Linked DNA regions of Homo sapiens: region 2 is linked to region 1. The links are contacts of gene promoters, found by promoter capture Hi-C in blood cells and fetal thymus (Javierre and others, 2016). All regions are on one chromosome and are shown on one strand. The core of a region is centred on a gene start or on the middle of the fragment in contact, and the rest is flanking DNA. Distances in the headings are between cores, read along the strand shown. Region 1 holds the start of GPS2 (G protein pathway suppressor 2). Region 2 holds the start of CD68 (CD68 molecule).

Evidence for each region. The method cuts DNA at HindIII sites, captures the fragments that hold promoters and counts their contacts. A CHiCAGO score of 5 or more calls a contact.
Region 2: a contact is called between the fragment with the promoter of CD68 here and the fragment with the promoter of GPS2 in region 1, in 7 of 17 cell types (naive CD4 T cells, total B cells, fetal thymus and 4 more). The highest score is 9.0, in naive CD4 T cells.

What each region holds. Positions count from the first base shown.
Region 1 is chr17:7,314,110-7,317,303 of GRCh38, reverse strand. It overlaps GPS2 (G protein pathway suppressor 2), which reads left to right and starts at 1,944. Exons shown (of 11, transcript NM_004489.5): 1 at 1,944-1,973; 2 at 2,185-2,345; 3 at 2,707-2,816; 4 at 2,901-3,013; 5 at 3,145-3,194. The coding sequence starts at 2,252. NEURL4 (neuralized E3 ubiquitin protein ligase 4) reads left to right here. Exons shown (of 29, transcript NM_032442.3): 28 at 1-99; 29 at 977-1,676. The coding sequence ends at 1,181. RefSeq lists a silencer at 2,002-2,331. The HindIII fragment of the contact is 7,056 bases long and covers 1-2,280 here.
Region 2 is chr17:7,578,363-7,581,730 of GRCh38, reverse strand. It overlaps CD68 (CD68 molecule), which reads right to left and starts at 2,093. Exons shown (of 6, transcript NM_001251.3): 1 at 2,005-2,093; 2 at 1,404-1,921; 3 at 1,146-1,265; 4 at 948-1,020; 5 at 665-835; 6 at 1-353. The coding sequence starts at 2,053. The coding sequence ends at 220. EIF4A1 (eukaryotic translation initiation factor 4A1) reads right to left here. Exons shown (of 11, transcript NM_001416.4): 11 at 2,725-3,368. The coding sequence ends at 3,245. It overlaps SENP3-EIF4A1 (SENP3-EIF4A1 readthrough (NMD candidate)), which reads right to left. Exons shown (of 22, transcript NR_037926.1): 22 at 2,725-3,368. RefSeq lists enhancers at 1,199-1,268, 1,369-1,428 and a silencer at 2,904-3,092. The HindIII fragment of the contact is 9,128 bases long and covers 1-3,368 here.

The DNA of each region.
Region 1 (3,194 bases), core at 695-3,194:
CGAGAACTGTGCACCTCCTCGGGAGGAGCAGCCCCCTCCTGTGCTGCTTTCCCCCTCCCTTCAATATGCTGGGGCGGAGACCCTGGCCTCCAAAGTGCAGTGAGTACTGGGAGGGGTGGGGAGAGATTTCCAGGGGCTCGGATGGAGAGGGCCCAAGCGCAGCCACTGGGGTCTTCATGATTCGCCCTCCCCTTTTCTCATCTCGTCTTGCTAGCTGCCAGTCTCCAACTCAGCCCTTTCTTCATTCATTGAACAAATACTACTTATATACTCTTCTAGTGGGCAAAAAAAGGAACCTTGCTCTTGTGGAACTTCTGCCTTTTCTCTCTACAATGTTCATACGTAATAAGTATTATTTATTTATTTATTTTTATTTTTATTTTTTTTGAGACGGAGTCCTGCTCTGTCACCCAGGCTGGAGTGCAGTGGCGTGATCTCACTGCAACCTCCACCTCCTGGGTTCAAGCGATTCTCCTGCCTCAGCCTCCTGAGTAGCTGGGACTACAGGCACGCACCACCAAGCCCGGATAATTTTTGTATTTTTAGTAGAGACGGGGTTTCGCCATGTTGGCCAGGATGGTCTCGATCTCCTGACCTCGTGATCCGCCCACCTCGGCCTCCCAAAGGGCTGGGACAGGCGTGAGCCACCGCGCCCCGCCAGTATTTAGTATTTTTAAAGGTAATAAGTAAGGACTATGGAAACAGAGAAAGAATGGGGCGGAGACAGCAGTGCGGTTGGTGTGGACATCCTAAGAAGGTGGGAGAGATTCGAGCAAAGGCTTGAAGAAGGAAGTGAAGGGTGTAGCTGAGCAGGCTTTGGGAGGAAGAGCATTTCAGGTAGAACAGCTAGAGCGAAGTTCCCATAAGGTGGGAGTATTTCCTAGGTACAGCAAGGCTTGTGTGGTTGGAACAGACTTTGCAAGGGGGAGGTGATGGGGCGAGAGGCTTCACTCCCTTATTTTTTCTTGTCTGACAGATTCCGGGACCCCAAATCCCAGCGGACGCACCAGGCTCAGGTGGCGTTCCAGGTGTGTGTGCGCCCTGGCTCCTACACCCCGGGACCCCCTTCCGCTGCCCTTGGAGAACCTCCTGACCCTCACTTCAGTCCAGCCGAACTTGAGTGGGTCACTAAGGAGAAGGGGGCCACACTCCTCTGTGCCCTGCTGGTACGGGTGGAATGAGGGGTGAGACACCACTACTACAAGCACAGTCGGGCCGCGGGCCCATGGACTCTGAGTGGCGACTGCCTCCACCTCATTCCCGTGACTCGTGGCATGCGCAGGTGCTGGAGCTTGGCAGCCGCGCAGGAGCATGTAGGCAGGCTCTCAGATGTAGGTGGCAAGTGGCACAGCTCCATGTCCGGAGGCCCAGCACTCCGTCTGATGGGAGGAGTCGTGGGAGCCCAGCTCCAGGCCCTGGTACCCCTCTTCATGCACTGATTTGGGGAACATGACTCCCTTTTACTCCCCTACCCCACATCACTTAATTTATTTCCGTTTTTGTTTCTGGTTACTGTGAATCCCAGAGGAGTCTCTCCCTGTGCCCACATGAAGCTGCTTTTTCCGGGGCCACCGGGCGGGAGTGGGGAAGGGTGGGCGCACGGAAGATGGGGGCCTCTGTACAGTTGTTACTGACTCTGATTTCTAAGGAGCCAATAAACACCGTCTCAGAGCCTCCGCCTCGGCCTCTCTCTCGCGCGCCCCTCTCCGGAGCCCGCGTCCCCTGGGGTGCCACCAGGTGGGCCCGCGAAATTAAAGAGAGCTGAGGATGCCAAGGCCAGTCTGCAGCCGTCGTCGCTCACGTTCCCGGCGACGGGGTTTGTACGCCGCGGGCACCCGTCGCAGCGCGCTTCCGCCTTCTTTCACCTGTGAGGTCGGCCGCCGCCGTGACTCCGGAAGGACTCGGCCGGGCCGCCGGATGTGACGCAGGGGCCAGGGCGCGTCGGAGCCGCTGAGAAAGCGCAGAGAAGGCGGGTAGGAAGGGCAGTCGTCCGCGCTGGCTGGGCAGGGAGCGGCAGCAGCGAGCCGGGGACCCCGGCGCCGCCCGCGCGCGGTGGGACTGGGGCTGCGGTCCCGGCCGGGTGGCGGGCTCCTGGGACACGTGACCGGGGCGGCGAGCGGGCCGGGCGGACGGGCTTCCGCCTGGGCCGGGCGCGGCCCCCTCTGAGCGCCCGCCTCCCCGCAGGCCCCGTCTGAGGTCTGGCAGTCAGAGACAGCCGGGCGCCCACGGCCCGAGCGCCCACGGCAGCACCATGCCCGCACTCCTGGAGCGCCCCAAGCTTTCCAACGCCATGGCCAGGGCGCTGCACCGGCACATTATGATGGAGCGGGAGCGCAAGCGGCAGGGTGAGCCGGGGCCATAGCAGGGGGACGCACGGCCCAGAATGGCTCCTGTACCTCAAGGCTGGCCTCAACCCACCGGCCAACCAGCGCGCCCGCTGCCGAGCGCAGAGGAGGGAAGGAATAGCCCCGTTGTGGTGGGATTTAAGCGTCCTGTTCCACGCTCCAGAACCCTTGAGATGGGAAGGACCTTGGAGAGCACCTGATAAAGCCTTTCCGTTCCCTATTGCCGCGATGGGGAGCTTGTCCCCTCGAGGCAAAGAGCATACAGGCGTGTTGGGATGACTGGGTTTTGCTGGTCTTCAATCTGTAACGTTGGAATTGTTTTCACTACCCTGCCTCTTCTTCATTCTGCCTGATTCTCCAGAGGAAGAAGAGGTGGATAAGATGATGGAACAGAAGATGAAGGAAGAACAGGAGAGAAGGAAGAAAAAGGAGATGGAAGAGAGAATGTCATTAGAGGAGACCAAGGAACAAGTAAGCAGTCCCTTGAACTTTCCCAGCTTTGATTTCTTCGTTTGACTCTCCCTGCCTTCATCTTCTTTTCCCACCCCATCCCAGATTCTGAAGTTGGAGGAGAAGCTTTTGGCTCTACAGGAAGAGAAGCACCAGCTTTTCCTGCAGCTCAAGAAAGTTTTACATGAGGAAGAAAAACGGAGGCGAAAGGAACAGAGGTGGGATCAGAGTGCTAAAAACTGAAATGGGGGCCAAGTGGAACTGGGATCAGGTAGTAAAAGAACCAGTGTTTAATGGCAAAAGAGAAGGCATCTGTCCTTGACTTTGACCTGTCTTCCTTTCACTCCAGTGACCTGACCACCCTAACATCAGCTGCATACCAGCAGAGCCTGACTGTTC
Region 2 (3,368 bases), core at 844-3,343, 260 kb before region 1:
AGGCTGGTCTCAAACTCCTGACCTCCAGTGATCCACCTGCCTCAGCCTCCCAAAGTGCTGGGATTACAGGCATGAGCCGTCATGCCCGGCTTTCTTTTTGTTCTTCAAGAAAGGGAAGGAAAATAACATTGTCTTTGAGCCAGTTGCGTGTCGAGGAAATAAGGGTACCCCCCCACCACACCCCAACCCCCTCAGTGCCCTGGGGTTTGAAGCAAATGCTCAGAGGGCCTGGTAGGCGGATGGGCGTCTCCGGATGATGCAGAAAGCAATAAGCACCAGGGCGAGGAGGCCAAGAAGGATCAGGCCGATGATGAGAGGCAGCAAGATGGACCGGTCACTGGGGCAGGAGAAACCTGGCGGAAGGATAGGGCAGGTAGGTATTTGCAGTGACGTGCTGGTTGGGATAAAGGTGGGAGGAGGGAATGGGGGGATGCTGGGGAGTAGGAGATTGGTGAGGAGCTCACCGCAGTGACTCAGCAGTGATAAAAGGGGGAAACTGGCAGAGTCTTGTAGAGGATGGAAAGAAAGCTGCCCTGTAGCCATGACAAGCTGGGAGAGCGAGATTTGGGGGGTTAAGAAGAGAGATGAGTGGCTTATGGGCCTGGGGAAGGGGTTTTCAGTGCAGTGGGAGGATTCTAGGAGGGAAGGAGTAGGTAGGTCTTACTTTGCCCAAAGACCCCTGTGTGGGGCAGCTGAGCAGCCTGGAGCCTCAGGGAGAGCAGGTCGAGGTGGACAGCTGGTGAAAGAATGATGCTCGAGTTGCTGCAACTGAAGCTCTGCCCCAGGGGTGCTTGGAGATCTCGAAGGGATGCATTCTGAGCCGAGAATGTCCACTCTGGAGGAGTGAGGAAGGGTCAGATCCTATCCACCTCCCTGGCCCCAGCTTAGTCCTTTCAGGAACCCTGGCGTCTAGTGGTAGCAATGAGAAAGGGAAGGAGGTTACTTACGTGCTGCGTGGGGGAAGGACACATTGTACTCCACCGCCATGTAGCTCAGGTAGACAACCTTCTGCTGGAGGTCCTGTGGGGCGAAGAGGAAGGCGCAGGTGGTATCCCTCTCCACAGAGGAAGGAGTAGCGTGTGGGATTGGGAGGGGAGGGGCGCCGGGAGGCTGAGTGAGGGGTGAGACTGAGGTCATGGCTATACCTGCATGAATCCAAAGCTGAGGTGTCCATAGGGGAATGAGAGAAGCAGGTGGGGATGGGCACCCTCACAGCTTCCCTGGACCTTGGTTTTGTTGGGGTTCAGTACAGAGATGCCCCAGGCCTGCGGAAGTTAAAGACTGGAAGGTCACAAGACTGCATGCGATGCCGGCCAAGGTTCCCTGTCCCCTCTTCCTTCTTCCCTCTGAGCCTATATCCAGTCCTGCCTCCCTCCCCTCTCATCCCCCAGTTTTAGCTTTACCTCTCCTCCACCCTGGGTTGTGTACATGACTCGAATCTGAATCTGGGCTTGGAGGTGGACACAGGGCTGGGAACCATTGGTCCACGTGTAGTCTCCAATGGTCTCCTTGGAGGTTGGGCTAGGACTCGGAGAGGGTGGAGGTGGTTCTGGGTGGGCAGAACTGGTGAATCCTGGGCTGGTGGCAGTGCTGTTGCTTGTTGGATGAACCGTGGCATTTCCATGACTAGTGGTGGCAGGACTGTGAGTGGCAGTTGAGGGTCCCTGGCTGGTGGCAGTGCTATTGCTTGTTGGATGAACTGTGACGTTTCCATGGCTGGTGGTGGTGGGGTTGTGAGTGGCAGTCGTGGGTCCGTGGCTGGTGGTGCCTGTGGTGGTTGTCCTGTGAGTGGTGGTTTTGTGGCTCTTGGTAGTCCTGTGGCTGGTTGTTCCAGTGCTCTCTGTAACCGTGGGTGTCACCGTGAAGGATGGCAGCAAAGTAGCTGATTTTTTGTGAGGACAGTCATTCCCTGTCCCCTGGGCTTTTGGCAGAGAGGAGATGGTTAGCAACCCAGGGCAGGCTCCCTCCCAGGGGCCCCCTCCCCTCAGCCTCCTTCCTCCTTACCTGCCAGTAGCCCCAGCAGGGCCCCCGAGAAAAGCACAGCCAGCCTCATGGCTGAACCGCCTCACCCAAAGTCCAGCTAGGCTGTCTGCACCAGTTGCTCAACCCTGCTCCCTCAGCCCTCTCTTGGAAAGGAGGAAATGAAAGTCTCACTTCCTGTACTGGAGATGATCCCACCCACAGCCTGACTCAGGGGCCTCAGCTCTAGCCACCTCTCTCTTAGTCATTAGTTTTTGTAATTAAGTTAGGGGACTGTTGGCCCTGCTTCATCAGGGCAAAGTCAACAGTGTCACATGGGTGCAAACGGAGTCCTAGGGCAGTTGATCCACAGGGATCCATGTGTCAAACTCAGCGAAACTTGCTTGGCAGTTGTGGCAAGTAGCTATGGGAACAGCTGAGGTACAGGCCCCTCCCTTGGTGGGGAAATCGGTTTCCACTCCTTTCCCCTGGACCTCTGGGCTGACCCCTGTACTACTTCCTCTTGGCTGAGGCATGTGAGGGGCTTGTGACCATCCACACCCAGCCCTTTACAGAGGGGCAGCACTCCAGTCAGCATTGTCATTCACAGAGCCGAGAACATGGCTTTCCAGCGTCTGAGAACTCAGATGGTGACAAGAAAGCAACAGCCCAAAGGTAACCATCTGCTGGGGAAGGGGGGAGCAGAGATGCACCCAGTAGCAGGTGGGAGAGGGAAGGGGAGGTAAGAAATGAGAAGCCCAAACAGGCAGTTTCCAAGTCATTTTATTCAGAATTTTGTGTTTGTTTCCTGAATCAATAAATACTATACAAAACAATGTAAAAATGGCTACCATTTTCTCTCCCCTGCTTCCCCCCACCTGGGGACAACCCCCTGGGCAACCTCACTTAGGGGTTTTAGGGGTTCTCCCTCCAGATTTGGTCCAGCAAATGAGGCTGAGTGACATAGTCCCTTGAATCACTTTCAAAGGAGCTCAGCTGAGGTGAGGAGAGCCTCTGGGATCTGGAGGTTACTAGGTTAGGGAAATGGATTAGTGTTTTTTTTTTTTTTTTGGGAGAAGAGCCGGCGCCTGGGGCAAGAGCCTACCCCAAAGAAAAGGGTGTCTAAAATGTTCACGGTTCCTTCTTTTGCCTCAAAAAGTGACATTTATTCAAAGAAAAAAAATGACAAGATGTCCATCCCTTGGCTCCCTTCCCTCCCCCCTCCTGCTGCTCCTCAGCCCCCAGAGATTGAGCCCTGGCTGGGGCTGGGTGGCAGGACAGCCCCTCAGATGAGGTCAGCAACATTGAGGGGCATTTCCTCAATGGAGGTGTTGTAGAAGGTCTCAATGTCTCGAAGAGTCCTCTTGTCTTCTTCTGTCACCATGTTAATAGCCACACCTTTACGGCCA